Linked DNA regions of Homo sapiens: region 2 is linked to region 1. Evidence: promoter capture Hi-C in 16 types of primary human blood cells and fetal thymus (Javierre and others, 2016). All regions are on one chromosome and are shown on one strand. The core of a region is centred on a gene start or on the middle of the fragment in contact, and the rest is flanking DNA. Distances in the headings are between cores, read along the strand shown. Region 1 holds the start of RPL26L1 (ribosomal protein L26 like 1). Region 2 holds the start of STK10 (serine/threonine kinase 10).

What was found. Contacts are between HindIII fragments. The CHiCAGO score rates a contact against its expected background, and 5 or more counts as called.
Region 2: the fragment with the promoter of STK10 here is called in contact with the fragment with the promoter of RPL26L1 in region 1 in 3 of 17 cell types (naive B cells, naive CD4 T cells and activated CD4 T cells); the score reaches 5.7 in naive B cells.

What each region holds. Positions count from the first base shown.
Region 1 is chr5:172,957,957-172,960,906 of GRCh38, reverse strand. RPL26L1 (ribosomal protein L26 like 1) reads right to left here and starts at 1,483. Exons shown (of 4, transcript NM_016093.4): 1 at 1,439-1,483; 2 at 866-1,042. The coding sequence starts at 1,033. It overlaps RPL26L1-AS1 (RPL26L1 antisense RNA 1), which reads left to right and starts at 1,539. Exons shown (of 4, transcript NR_026682.1): 1 at 1,539-1,617; 2 at 2,650-2,768. The HindIII fragment of the contact is 11,810 bases long and covers 1-2,950 here.
Region 2 is chr5:172,186,813-172,189,512 of GRCh38, reverse strand. It overlaps STK10 (serine/threonine kinase 10), which reads left to right and starts at 1,289. Exons shown (of 19, transcript NM_005990.4): 1 at 1,289-1,626. The coding sequence starts at 1,471. RefSeq lists enhancers at 529-1,304, 2,357-2,436 and silencers at 977-1,336, 1,637-1,686, 1,817-1,896. The HindIII fragment of the contact is 8,713 bases long and covers 977-2,700 here.

The sequences.
Region 1 (2,950 bases), core at 234-2,733:
AACAATTATCCAGTCCAACATATCAATAGAGCTGAGGCTAGGAAACCCTGCTCTAAAACGTGATCTCCATGAGAACAAGGGCCTCGTCAATCTTGTCCTAGAACAATCTCTGGTAAGTGCTCCATAAATATTCCTTTGAGGAATGAATCTAGCCCCTGCTTATTTCACTCATATCCAACTCCCTTCCCTCCTCTCATGCATTCTAAGCTCCAATCACAGAGAACAGAGGGCTTGTACGTTCTCACATGGGCCAGTCTTTTAGAAATTATGAAAGAGTGACTCGCTGCATCTTTACCAGTTCTCCTGCCAAATCCAATGCTATCACATGGCCAGCTCCCACAAATCTCTGTCCATCAATCCCACTACACCCAAATACACTAAAACACTACTCTCACTGCAGCACCTTCCCCTACAGTCTGGTTCAACAAGCCACCCTGGGCAACAACACTTGGCAAACTAGCAGCCAGAAGGTTAAATCAAAAGTATTTTTGGTGGGGCACGGTGGCTCACACTTGTAATCCCAGTGCTTTGGGAGGCTGAGGTGGGAGGATCACTTGAGGCCAGGAGTTCAGAGACCAGCCTGGGCAACATAGCAAGACCCTATCTCTACAAAACAAACAAAAAAGCAGGTTTTTGCTTGGTTGACATACTGTTTTATTAAATTTTACTATTACTATTAAATAATTAAATGCTCTAAAGCAACGCAGGCACTCTCTGGTGGCTCTGAACCCTATCTCTGGCCTAACACATCTGAAGGGTCACACTACTTTCCAGAGTCCTGAGGCATGTGAGTCTGTGACTGCTCCACGCATGACGTTCTTAGGCAACGGTGTCCGAGCGCCACTAGCGCCGGAGGGAGACGTACCTGGACCTCGTCGTCCTTGCGGATGGGCATGGAGCGGACATTGTACTTCTGCCGCAGCTCCTTGGAGAGCGGGGATGACATGATCTTCCTGCGCACGTGTGAGGGGGCATTGAAGTGACGTTTGCGGTTTTTACTGCGGTCCGAGGTAACGAAGGGATTGAACTTCATGGTGACCCTCTACAAAGGGCGGAGAGAGACGGAATGAAGGGGCGCTCAGTGGGTTACAGGGGCCTGTTCTCGACCCAAGACACTCCTCATCCCCCAACAAAGGCTCTACAGGGGAGGTAGCCTCTGAAAAGGCAACTGAGGGAGGACAGAGAGATGCGACTAGTCTGACTATCACATAAAGTGAGGCGTGTGTGGAGGTCGCATGCCCGTCTAAAGGGGTCGTGGGGGAGAGGGTAGCACTGGGACCTTGAGGCTGAGGAAGGAATGCTAGGGTTAGGCAGGAATGGGTGGTCGGGAGGTCACTCAAAGAGAGCTGTGGGGTGACATGTGTTCCCGCGACACATAGGGCAGGGTCTCACGGGGCGGTAGAGTTCACTGTCCGAGAAAACTCCAGCCTCCACTCACCCGGCTACTAGCTGCCTCAGACCCTGAGTGCGCAGGGCCGGAAGTGAGTTTCCGTGCCGCGCAAGCGCAGAAAGACATCGAAGCCCCATTTCCGTAGGAGCGAAGTCGAATGGCGCCCCCAGCGGCTTGGGGTGGGATCTCAGTGCCTCATTCCTGGCGGCCCCGGGAGGGCGATGCCAGTGAGTACAAGGGCCTGCTTGTGTAGGGCCTGCGGTAGAGGCTTACTGGTGTTCTTTTTTTTTTTTTTGAGACGGAGTCTCGCTCTGTCGCCCAGACTGGAGTGCAGTGGCGCGAGCTCGGCTCACTGCAAGCTCCGCCTCCCGGGTTCACGCCATTCTCCTGCCTCAGCCTCCCGAGTAGCTGGGACTACAGGCGCCCCCCACCACGCCCGGCTAATTTTTTGTATTTTTAGTAGAGACGGGGTTTCACCCTGTTAGCCAGGATGGTCTCGATTTCCTGACCTCGTGATCCGCCCGCCTCGGCCTTCCAAAGTGCTGGGATTACAGGCGTGAGCCGCCGCGCCCTCCTACCTCTACTTTTTTCTATCTCTGGGACTAAACGGCGGCCGGCGGCGTGCCTGCGGGTTTGTGGCCGCCGCCCCGCCCCTCTCTCCTAGACCCCGCCCCTCTCATCCAGTCCCCGCCCACTCCGGCCGCTCCGCGCCCACCTGTGGCCCTCTTGGCCCTTCTGCCCGTGCCTGGCCCCGCCGGGTCGCTCCCGAGCTCCGCGTTTCGTTCGCCGACCCCTGGAAGACTGCCTGGAGGCCCGGGCGCCACCCAACCACTGGCTAGGCCGACACTTTGCGCGGACCCTGGGTGTAAAAGGTCCCCGGGTCTCTGGTCCCGACGGAGCTGTGAGGGAGATCAACCACGCCCCCTCCGTGGGCACCGTGGCGGCAGGGAAGGAAAAGGGCTCTGGGTCTCGACTCTCTTCGGGTTAAGAACCGACGGGGTTTATTCTATGCAAGGTGTTATTAACTCCAACTCTCCCTTTCGTTCATTCATTCCATATATGTTGAACGACAACTTAGTGCCAAATGCCGGCATGCTGAAACTCAGAGAGGGAAGATGTCTTGCAAGTACAGCAGCCACACCCAGGCAGGTCCCGTGCTCTCTCTTAGTTTATCAGTGTTCCCTGACATGTAGTGGTGACATTGTTAAACACCTGCGTTTACTAATACTAGATTTTTTTTTTTTTTTTTTTTGAGATAGAGTTTCGCTCTTGTTCCCTGGGCTGCAGTGCAGTGGCACCATCTCGGCTCACCGCAACCTCCGCCTCCCAAGTTCAAGCGATTCTCCTGCCTCAGCCTCCCCAGTATCTGGGATTACAGGTATGCGCCACCACGCCCGGCTAATTTTGTATTTTTAGTAGAGACGGGGTTTCTCCATGTTGGTCAGGCTGGTCTTGAACTCCCGACCTCAGGTGATTCTCCCGCCTCGGCCTCCCAAAGTACTGGGATTACAGGCGTGAGCCACTGCGCCTGGCCTACTAATACTAGGTTTTATTCCGGGC
Region 2 (2,700 bases), core at 40-2,539, 770 kb after region 1:
CATTCCGAACGGCTTAGCAACCAGGACACCCTCTGCGCCGACCACTACCAGCATCGCAGGCTTCTTGAGCTGGCTTTCCCAGTGGAAAACCATGCTTGGTGTTTGCACACTGTTCAAAGGATGTTTTCGAACAAAGCACCGAGGAAGGGGCGAAAACACCTCAACACAGCCGTTCTCTGGGGTTGGAGCTATTGAACTGTGACATTTGCGAAGACTCAACTTGTTTATGACACGGTCCAAATAATAACCCTTGCAGACTGCCCGCCCCCCCCCCCCACCCCCAGCACTCTCCTTAGATTCAGGTAAAAGCATGTTATAACCGTCTATAGGACAAACAGGCAACAGTAGCAGTGAAGTGACTCAAGTAGCCAGGATCGAGAATGAAGGTGCTCAAAGAAGACTTTAGTTTGATCTGTATGTAGTGCGCTCATCTTTTTTGAAACTAGGAAATTAAAAATTAGAATAAAGTTTTTATTTAATATGCAAATACATCCGCAAACCCATCAGGAAACATAAGAGAAATCAGTGCCAAAGGAGCTCTTTCTCCCAGCCCTCTAATCCTGGCAGGTTTGTGGATCGTGGACGGGGAGCCCCTGGAAAGGACCGCGCCGGGAAGCCGGGCCCTGCAGGGACTGGCCGCGGCTGCACCGGCGTTGCCCGTCGCACACTAGGAGGCAGCACCGCGCCGAGGAACCCGCAGCAGACGGGCAGCCAGCGTGTGTGCCTGGGGCGAGTGCCCTCGCCTGCCGGCGTCCCCATCGGAAAAGTGGGGGCGAGGGCAGCCTAGCGGAATAGCTGCGGGAGGATTAAATGAACGAGTGCAGGTTCACCTTCTGGGCGCTGACAACGATCCGTGGGCTCTCGCGAAATGCCAAGTCGCCGTCCCGCTTGCTCCCATAAAAGTTTTGGGAGCCACGCGGCGCGGCGGGCGGGCTCCTGAGTCCATGAGCGGTCCCACCGAGCGGTCCCCGAAGCTTCCCCAAAGCCCAGCCCGCGGCTCGCGGAGCGTGGTGTGGGGGGACTACAGTTTCCAGAGTGCCCTGCGGCGACGGGCGGAGCCGGGGAGCGCCCGCAGCCAATTAGGGGGTCCCGGGGCTCTGCCGGGGAGCGGCGGGTGGAGCCGGGCCGGTGGGCGGGCGCGGGGACGGTCCCCTGGAACGGGTCCGAGGCTCTCGCAGGCAGGGCTGGGCCGGGCAGGAGCTGCGAGGCCGGCACAAGGGAGGCGGCCCTGGGGACCTGACAGGGCGGGGGCGGGGGCGGGCACGCCGCCGCCTGCGCGGTTCCGGGTGCTCCCGGCGCGGCGCTGCCCAGGGCACACTTGACCGAGGTCGGGCTGCGGGGAAAGGCGGGTCTGGGGAGAACCCCGAGAGACGCGGCGTCCTCCAACTCCTCCTCCTTCTCCTCGCGGCCGCCGAAGCCACAGCCCGAGCCCGAGCCCGAGCCCGAGCCGGCGCCACCGCGCCCCCGGCCATGGCTTTTGCCAATTTCCGCCGCATCCTGCGCCTGTCTACCTTCGAGAAGAGAAAGTCCCGCGAATATGAGCACGTCCGCCGCGACCTGGACCCCAACGAGGTGTGGGAGATCGTGGGCGAGCTGGGCGACGGCGCCTTCGGCAAGGTTTACAAGGTGAGGGCGCTGAGGTGGGTGGCCGGACGCGCGTCGAGGGGCTCCGGAAGGAAGGGATGCCTGAGCCGGACCCGGCCAGCCTGGCTCCGGCTCCGAGGGCTGCCCGGCGCTGAATTCGGGGTCCCTGGCCCTCATCCCGATGACTCTTGTTTTTTGGGGGGAACATCACTCGGCCCGGCCGAGTCCCTGCGCTCTGGGCGCCCCCTCCGGGCACGGTTGCCGCCCCCACCCTAGCCCTGTTTCGGAGCACTTCCTGTGTGTCCTGCACTGCGCTCGGCGCCGCACGGGGAGACAAAGGGGCGTTGACAGGACCTCAGCATCCGAGAGGGCCACTCGAGGGACCTTCCAGGGACGTTCCGTAAAACGGCGATACGGGCACACTTTTTTTTTTAAGAGAGACCACAGATGCTGTGGGAATATCGAGGCGATGTGGACCGAGAAACTCGGCTGCGCTTGGACGGGTTGGGAGCTAGGGACACATCTGAAGATGAGCCAGAGACAGGGAAGTGGGGTGGGCGAGGGGTGGCCCATGGACTGAGAGGTGGGGCTTGGAAAGGTGGGTTGGGGCTGGTCAGAGGGGGAGGTCAGGATCTGGTGAATGCTGAGCCTGGGGGAACAGATTTGATTCCGTCGGTCTGAGTCACAGCTGGGGAGTCTCCCAGCCTGCAGTCACCTCTCCCCTAGAGGAAGACGCGGCAGAGAGCTTTTGTGGAGTGGGTGGGGCAGAGCTGATTGAGTCTAGAGAAGTGTGGCAGCAGGACGTTGGTTTCTGCTCCTGGGAGCTAATTCTGAGGTGGTGAGTTGTTTTAGGGAGCCAACACCTACAGCTTGACTCCCCCCTTTCCCCTAAGAAAATTTTTACTGGGAGACGCCCACTTGTTAAATTGGTGTATACCTCCAGGAGAGCACCTCTCTTCTAAGCCACTATCCTCCTCCTTGGGGCTCCTGTAGCTTGTAGGGCACTCTGACCCTAGGATTGCCGTTCTATGAGGCTGGACCACAGAGAAGGCTTCTCCAGGCCTTCTCCTCTGACTTGGAAGTGGTCTATCGCCTAGTTACCGAAGTAGTTCCTAG